Linked DNA regions of Homo sapiens: region 2 is linked to region 1. The links are contacts of gene promoters, found by promoter capture Hi-C in blood cells and fetal thymus (Javierre and others, 2016). All regions are on one chromosome and are shown on one strand. The core of a region is centred on a gene start or on the middle of the fragment in contact, and the rest is flanking DNA. Distances in the headings are between cores, read along the strand shown. Region 1 holds the start of MYCL (MYCL proto-oncogene, bHLH transcription factor). Region 2 overlaps LOC105378669 (a long non-coding RNA gene).

The links. Contacts are between HindIII fragments. The CHiCAGO score rates a contact against its expected background, and 5 or more counts as called.
Region 2: a fragment that was not itself captured here is called in contact with the fragment with the promoter of MYCL in region 1 in 2 of 17 cell types (M1 macrophages and M2 macrophages); the score reaches 6.6 in M1 macrophages.

Annotation. Positions count from the first base shown.
Region 1 is chr1:39,900,044-39,904,493 of GRCh38, forward strand. MYCL (MYCL proto-oncogene, bHLH transcription factor) reads right to left here and starts at 1,874. Exons shown (of 2, transcript NM_001033081.3): 1 at 896-1,874. The coding sequence starts at 1,391. RefSeq lists silencers at 1,128-1,247, 1,658-1,977, 2,238-2,447. The HindIII fragment of the contact is 9,554 bases long and covers 1-4,450 here.
Region 2 is chr1:40,024,304-40,028,753 of GRCh38, forward strand. The region is part of intron 2 of LOC105378669 (a long non-coding RNA gene); the gene reads right to left. Among named protein-coding and RNA genes, the nearest start is that of CAP1, 14 kb to the right of the region's middle. The HindIII fragment of the contact is 3,390 bases long and covers 203-3,592 here.

The DNA of each region.
Region 1 (4,450 bases), core at 624-3,123:
GCCTGGAGTTCTACTGCCTTGACCCCAGCATGTAGCCCACAGATTGCCACAAAGTAGGGGCCAGTGAATATTTGTTGAATGCCAGGGAGCAGCTGACGCTGGAGATCTATTGAGGGGGAGCAAGAAGGACACTTTTCCATCTCAGGACAAACAGCAAGGCAAGGTGTAGTGCTTCTAAGATAAGCTACCACAAAGACCCCAAACATCAAGGAAGAGGTGCCTGGTTGGGATGGAGCATTGGGGAAGAGGGGCTGGCTAGATGGCAGAAAGCTGGAGCTGACTTGTAGTGATTGTCTATCTCTAAGCCTCAGTTTTTCCATCTGTTAATGGGGAGTGTTCATTCTTCCCTCCCTGTCTCAGGGATGCACGAGTGGTAAGTGGTGGTGGGGAGGCACGAGAAGAGGGCATTTATTATTGGCATTTTAAAGTAAAGCCAACTGGAGACCTAGGTTTTTAAAAGGACGAAGGTTTTGGCTTTGCACAAAAGGCTCTCGGCTTCTTCTCCCCCTAGGGGAGTGTGAGTTTCCTAGGGAAAGAGGCAGCAGCAAAAAAACTTCAGGTTTGGAGTGTCTCTTAAGGTACCCCCTTCAATCCCTTACAGTCCAACCCCAGTATTGTCCTCTCTAAGCGCCAACCCTCACCTCAAATCCCTTGTCCCCTGGGGCTCCAATAATCATCAAAGGGAGGCTGGCTCCCACGCCACTTTTCCAAACTGTTTACCAACACACCCACGTGCCAGACAGACACGGTTGGGGACTACACGGGCAGCTTCAGCCAAAGAGAGGCGGAGATGGCCCAAGAGCTTGAGAAGAGCCAATGCCTGACCTCAGGCAGGGGCAGAGCTTTGGCCACCCATGGGGTGGCCCCCTCTTGGATGGCTCGGGGAGGTCCTTACCCGAGTCGCTTGGGCTCTCGGACCCGGAGCAGGCCTGGGTCTTGGGTTCGCCCAGCGGACAGGGGGCGGCGGGCGCCGGGTTGCCGGCTTCGAGGCTGGGAGTGCAGTCCGGGGCGGCGGACGCCTTGGGCGGGTTCCCCCGGGGCGCGCCAGGAGCGAGCCGGTCGCTCACAGCTCTCTCCAGCCGTTCCCGGGCCGAGAAGCCGCTCCACATGCAGTCACGGCGTATGATGGAGGCGTAGTTCCTGCCCCAGCCTTTCGAGTGGCCCCGGGATTCCGCTTCGTCTCCGGTGCACCCTCCGGGCCACGGCTCCGGGGGACCAATCCCGGGGGCCGGGTCCCCTGCGCCGGGACCCAAGCCCCAGGGCGGCGACGTGGGGGGCGATGGCACCAGCTCGAATTTCTTCCAGATGTCCTCGCTGGGCGCCGTGGAGCGGTAGAAATCCTCCCCGCAGTCATAGTCGTAGAAATAGTGCTGGTACGAGTCGTAGTCCATGTCCGCTCCCTGCGGGAGGGAAGGGGGGACGTGCTGACCGGGTGCCGGCCGGGCGAAGGAGGTGTCCCCGGGTCCCTCGGCACAGTCGGCTGCCGGGCTCTCGTTCCTCCCCAACCCCACCAGCTTGCAGCCTGCGCCCAGTCCTCGCGTCCCGGGAAGCCGGGCCCCGGGTCAGAGTGGTAGGGGAAGCCAATCGCAGCGCGCGGACCCGACTGTGGGCAGCGAGTTCAAAGCAAACTTTGCCAGCGCCGCCCGGAGCGCAGCTCCCAGGGCCCGGCGGGGCCGGGCGGGGGCGCGCCGTGCCCAGAAGGCAGCCTGCAGCCAGCCCGCACCGCGGGACCCGCGCCCGTGCCCTGGCCACCCGCAGCCTCACCTCGCTCCAGCCGCCCGCCACCTGGAGCGGACCGGCTCCCCGCCGGCTCGGGGCAGCCCGGCAGCCAGCACACACGCACATGCGCGCCGCCGAGAGCGCGGCCCGCACTCACAAGCGCGCCCCCCCCGCGCGCGCGCCCTCCCTCGCTCGCGCACGGCGGCCCGGACGCTCTCGGGATCGGCGCGGGAGCGCGAGCTGCAGGCGCATTGTTTCCTGACTGCCTTATATCTCGTCGCGCGCCCGGGACCCAGGGACTGGGGGGCGGGCCCTATGGGACAAACCCCGCCCTCTCCCTGCCTACTACGGGCAGTCGACAGGTGGGGCCGGCCCCACCTCCTGGCAGCGCTCGCCCGCTCCGTTCAATCCCCGGTAGCCCCCCAAATAAATTGCACGCTGGGGAGCGCAAACAGGAGGAGGGCTGATGCGGCCCGGCGGCCGCTTGGCGGTGCCAGCCGGCTGAGCTAAACCGTGCTCCTTGCCCACTCCGAGCTGGGGAATTAGGGCTACTCCCCGCCCCACCCTGCGCGCCTACTTTCCCCGGCGCACCCCGCTGGGTTCAGGTGCGCCCGAGCCGCCGCGAGGGGTAGGGGGAGGGAAACGCGCCACCTGGCGGCCCTCAGCCCTGAACTTGGGCTGGTCCCGGCGTCCGTCTGGTCACCCGTCGGCCCGTTTCTTGAGCTCAGTGGCCCAAGCCTGGATGGCATCGAAGCGAAGATTCCGGGATTTAGAGCCCGAAACGTAACCTTCCTGAGCTTCAGTTTCATCTGTAAAATGAAGGGATGGTAATGCTTACCTCACAGGGTTGTTGTGAGGCTTCAGGGAAATAAGAGCATCTAGGGAAGGGGTCTGGTCTAGGTGGAGAGGCAGACGGCGCTGGCTTAGCCCCCGCTTTGGGGAGGCGGTGCAGAAATGAGGAATTTTTCCCAGGGCAAAGCCAGCTGAGACCCGCCATGCTCCCTCTCATCTCACACAAAACACTGTAGGAGCTGTACAGTAGAGAATGAGGATTTGGCATCTGGAAAATACTGCAGGACCAAGTTGTTTCAAGTTTTGCCCTGCATTGCTGGCCAAGATGATAGATAACCCCTTTGTATAATCTTCTTTTTAAATTTTAAATATATTTTGTTAAGAGACAGGGTCTCACTCAGCGTCAAGGCTGGAGTGCAGTGGCTCGATCATGACTCGCTGCAGCCTCGAACTCCTGGGCTCAAATGATCCTCCCTCCTTAGCCTCCGAAAGTGCAGGGATTACAGGCACGGGTCACCGTGCTGGGTCCCCCTTTGTGTCATCTTCTACACAGATGACCTTTGGTGGAAGAGAAAAAATTAAACTATACGGCCAGTCTGAGATTTAGGCCAGAGGAGAGTAACTTGGGACAGCAGCCAATACATCTAGATTCCTCCACCTGGCATCAAGGTCTGGTGTCTGTCTACCCCAGCCTGATTGTCTGCTGTCTCTCTCTTTCCCTCCCACCCCTGTGGTCTAAGAACACCAAACTACTCACTGTTGGCAGACGGAAGTGAGAAGGGCAAGCAATTCAGTGTGGTTGGAGCATGGGACACGGATGTGTGTTGTTATATGGGTTGGGAAGGCAGGGAAAATGACAGCCTTCCGTTTTAGATACGTTGGGTCTGTGCTGCATGTGGGACATCTTGAAGGCAGAAACCTGCTCCTACTTGCTTTGTGATTTCTGCACCTAGAACAGCTTCTGGCAGACATTTGTGAACTAACTGACTTACTGAGGGACTCAGCTAACCAGATTTCACTGAGACAGCTTGTGTGCCCTGCTTTGTGCTAAACGGAAGACACAAATCAGAAGGGTTCCAGGTTTGGTTGCAGCCCCAAGGCACAGGCATTGGATTGTCCTTTAGTGACTTTTCTCTGGTCCACAGATGTCTGAGATGGTTGCTGTACTAGTCTGGGTTATTGGTTACAAATAACAAAAACCAACCTTAGGCAGGGCACAGTGGCTCACGCCTGTAATCCCAGCACTTTGGGAGGCTGAGGCGGGCAGATCACAAGGTCAGGAGATCGAGACCATCCTGGCTAACACGGTGAAACCCCATCTCTACTAAAAATACAAGAAAATTAGCCGGGTGTCGTGGTGGGCACCTGTAGTCCCAGCTACTCAGGAGGCTGAGGCAGGAGAATGGCGTGAACCCGGGAGGCGGAGCTCACAGTGAGCCGAGATTGCGCCATTGCACTCCAGCCTGGGCGACAGAGCGAGACTCTGTCTCAAAACAAAAAAACAAAACAAAACAAACAAACAAAAAACCAACCTTAGACAAATGTAAGCAGAAAATGACTTTATTGGAATAATTGGTGGTATAGACCTCAAGGGAGGCTGGAAATTTATGTTTGGAGAATGGGCCTTCTTTACCTAGACTACAGCCCCCACCCTGCAGCTCTTCCCATGGTTTCATTGTAGATGATATATGGGGGCAACCAGGAGGTGCTGCCCCTCCTCAAGAAGTAGGAAAAAGGAAATTAAGTTGTCTTCTGAGAGTTAACACTGCTTCTTCACTTTGCATACTTTTGTTTGTTTAATGTCTTCCTCGTCAGACTGTAAACTGAATGAGGGCAGACAAATGTCAGCCTTATTCATGGCTGTACCCCAGGGCTTTAGAACAAAGCCTGGCACATCATGGGTGCTGAGTATATGACTGAACACAAAACTCTAATGTTT
Region 2 (4,450 bases), core at 648-3,147, 120 kb after region 1:
CTGAGACACCATGCCTGGCTAATTTTTAAATTTTTTTCTAGAGATTGGGGGTCTCGCTATGCTGCCCAGGCTGGTCTCGAACTCCTGGCCTCAAGCAGTTCTCCTGCCTTGGCCTCCAAAGTGGTGAGATTACAGGTGTGAGCCACTATGCCTGGCCACTTCTGCTTTCTTTGTTGATTTTTGTCTAACATCTTGACTTTAAAGCTTAGCTCTTTAAATTCCAGCCTATCTTTTTTTCTAATATAAGCACTTAAGGCTATGCATTTCTCCTTAAGTACATCCTATAAATTTCAATATAGCACTCTTAAAATCATTCAGTTCTAAGTATTTTCTGATACTTTCTTGTATGGTGTCTTCTTTGATCAGTTTAGCAGTAACTATATTTAAAGTTTTTCCAACATACAGGGTATTTTAAGGTGTTGCTGTTACTGTTCTTACTGTCCTCCAGTTATAATGAGACACCCAATGCGGTAAGTATACTGATTCTTTGGTGTTTGAGACTCGTTTTGTAACCTGGAGCATGGTCAATATTTATAAAAGCTCCATGGAAATTCTTGACAAAAATATATGTACTCTAATATTGGCTAACATTTTCTAAGTATAACCTATTAAGTCAAACCTGTTTTGTTTGTTTGTTTTGTTTTGTTTTAAACTGCTTCCCTGTCTTGGACCTGTCTGTCAGAATTCTATACTATCTGTGACATCTTTGGCAACAGTAACCCAATTTTTCCTTTCTTTATTAATGTGACATGAGATATTTGAAAATTCTATGATACATGTAGTATGTTTCATATTAAACTGAATTTGGGGGAGTTTTACACTTAATAGTTTGTCAATATTTTAGGATATTGGTACTTGATATCCTCTTTATATGAACAAATTGACTCTAAATTTTAAGCTGGAAAGCCATTGCAAAATCATGTAGAAAATAGGCTGGGTGCAGTGGCTCATGCCTGTAATCCCAGCACTTTGGGAGGCCAAGGCAGGTGGAACGCCTGAGGTGAGGAGTTCAAGACCAGCCTGGCTAGCATGGTGAAACCCCCATCGCTACTAAAAATACAAAAATTAGCTGGGTGTGGTGGTGCATGCCTATAATCCCAGCTCAGTCACTGTAGTTAAACTCCATTGGTTTGGTCTGTTAGGCTGAGTGCAGGAGCCTAGTCCAAATCAATGGCCTCCTGTAAATTTTAATTAATTAATTTATTTATTGAGATGGAGTCTCACTCTGTTGCCCAGGCTGGAGTGCAGTGGTGCAGTCTCAGCTCACTGCAACCTCTGTCCCCCAGGTTCAAGCAATTCTCGTGTCTCAGCCTCCTGAGTAGCTGGGATTACAGGTGCCTGCCACCACGCCCGGCTAATTTTTTTATTTTCAGTAGAGACAGGGTTTCATCATATTGGCCAGGGTGGTCTTGAACTCCTGACCTCAGGTGATCCACCTGTCTCAGCCTCCCAAAGTGCTGGGATTACAGGCGTGAGCCACCATGCCACACCTCAATGTCCTTCCAGCCTCAGTCAGCCAGGTGGTTTCAAAGCCAATTCCACATTTTAGGCTTTCATTATGGTAGCACCCATACCAAACTTTTTCTTAGAAACAGCTAAAAGCTGCATAAATTTGAGTCCTCTCACAAGTTCAAGGCAGATAGTTACTCAAGAGATTGAGGCTGAGGACGGGAGGCGGCTTGAGCCCAGGAGTTCGAGGTTACAATGAGATATAATTGAGCCACTGCACTCCAGCCTGGGTGACAGAGTAAGGCTCTGCCTCTAAAAAAAGAAAAGAAAAAAGTTCAAGTGGAAAATGGCAGTGAAAAGATAAGAAGCAGCAGGAGTAGACAGGGAGAATCTTCAGGCCATGGTGCAGGACTGACACCCGTGAGAGGAGAGAAGGAAAGAAGGAGGATTGGGTAGGAAGAGGCTCCGAGTGTTAGTGCAGCTCTGAAAAAACTCTTGGCCAGGCTGATTGCCCAGTGAAGGAGTCCCACATAAGGCAGAAATGGCCCAGCTGTAGTATGCCCTGGAGCTCGGTCATTGGCTGGGATGAATCCAGGGAAAGCGTGCCTTGGCAAGAATGCTGTGGCAAATCCCAGAGGTACGGCAGTTACCTCTACACCTCACAGCAGATTCTCTTTGTGAAGGTGGATGTAAGACATTGTGCACACAGTCCACCCCTTGGTCACATAGCCCATCCCTTGCACTGCCAAGATCCACCTGCCCCACATCATTGGAGAGAAGTTCCTCTACAGCTCTCACAGGCCTCTCTTCCTGAGGAGAAACCTGAATGAGTGAGGTTAGGGGGATGAACCATAGCCCCTATTGTTGCAGATGGTTGAGTTGTCTTTTTTTAAAAAAAAAAAAAATCAATTTATAAGACTGGGTGCAGTGGCTCACACCTGTAATCCTACCACTTTGAGAGGCTGAGGAGGGAGGATTGCTTGAGCCCAAGACCACCCGGGGCAACATAGTAAGACCTCATCTCTACAGATAATTTAAAAAATTAGCTGGGTAGGTGAGCCACTGTGCCTGACCATACATTTTATTTAACATATGAAATGCCCAGAATAGGCAAATCTATAGAGACAAGTAGATTAGTGATTGCCTATGGTTGGGCAGGGAGAGTTGTGGGGTGCTGTGTTCTGAATGTGTCCCCAAGATTCATATGTTGATACTGAATCACCAATGTAATAGTATTAAGAGGTGGGGCCTTTAGGAGATGACTAATAAGGGCCGAGCCCTCATGGATGGCATTAAGGCCCTTATAAAAGGGCTTGAGTTGGTGGGTTCCATCTCTTCTGCCATGTGAGAAGGTCCTCACCTGATGCCAAACACCAGTGCTTTGATCTTGGACTTCCAAGCCTCTAGAACTGTGAGAAATGTCTACTATTTATAAATTATTCAGTCTCATGTATTTTGTTGTAGCAGCACAAACAGACTAAGACAGAGGTGGCAGGGGTGAGGGGGGACAGAGTATGACCATTAATGGGTACCAGGTCCCTTTTTGGGGTGATAAAAATGTTCTAAGATTGATCATGGTAAAAGTTGTACAACTCTGTGAATATACTAAAAACATCGAATTGTATGTTTTAAATGGGAGACTTGTATGGTATGTGGATTATATCTCAATAAAGCTGATATATATGTGTGTGTATATATATATGTGTATATATATGTGTATATATATGTGTGTATATATATGTGTGTGTATATATATATATATATATACACACACACACACACACACATATCTATATCTAGGACCAGGACTTACTTGGCTTGGCTTGAAAATAAAACTGTTTTCACTGTCAGCCTCTCCAGATGGTAAATGATTCTAAAGTTAAGAAATGGCTCTGGGCAGAAGTAAAATCCAAGACACTGTCAGGAAAATATTATCTAAAAAAGAAGTTAAAGGTTAAGACCTTTATAGAATGCTTTATAGGATGCTTTATAGAATCCATCTGATAGAAAAAAAAGTCTCTCCAAAGATCTTAAGGACATTTTGGAGCAGTCTCTCAAGGGAAGGAAGTGCTTATCTCAAAGAGATTTATGAGAGTAGCTTTTGTTGGAGTGGATAATAAATTCATGCATAAGGAACCCACAAAGCTTCTAAGAGAATTGCTCTGGCAGAAGCATCTATCAGCTAGGACTAATGGGGACATAGACAGTACAAAATGGAAAGATGCCTTTTATAGGGAGGAATCAGGCTGAGAAGGCTACTCAGATACAAACTCAATTTTCTTATAGAAAAGGAAGGATGATTCAGAGTGTAACCAAGAGCCCAGATATTGGAGCTGAAACCACAATGAACAACTCTCCGGCAATTGGACTAAGCTCTAATCAACCTACATCAGTTGGATTTCAGAGTTGTCTCTGCTGTATGCCTCCCATTTTCCCTTGTTTTGAAGGGGAGCAACTCTAGAGCAACTCTAGCCATGGGAGCAACTGTAGAGCAACTCTAGCCTTTCCCACCATTGTATGTAGGATGTGTATAGGAGGCAAATAAGTTGCCTCGTTAATTCATATATTTGATATGTAGGAAACAAATGGCAGAGATAGATCAATTAGATAAATTGAGAGGCTCTTAAGATAGTCCAGGCAAGAGATGATGGTAGCTTGGAGTAGGTAGCAGTGAAGAAAATGAGTAAGTAGAGAGATTCAGAATATATTTTGAAGTTAGAGCCAATGGTCTTTGCTCATATATTGGAAACGGGACATAAGAGGAATAGAAGAGTCGAATCAAATTCAACTCTTCAATATTTAGCTTGAAGAGCTGGGTTAATAAGTTTCCCTTCAACTGCTTTTGTTTGTCCACTCTCAGAGGAAAATTTTTAAGCGTAACCTACACTGCTCTCCCCCTTTTCTCACCTCCCACTTCCCATTACACTTTATCTAGTCTCTGCCTACTACCAGTCTGCAAAAAATGCTTCTGAAAATATCGCCAAAGGCCACCATGTCTTAA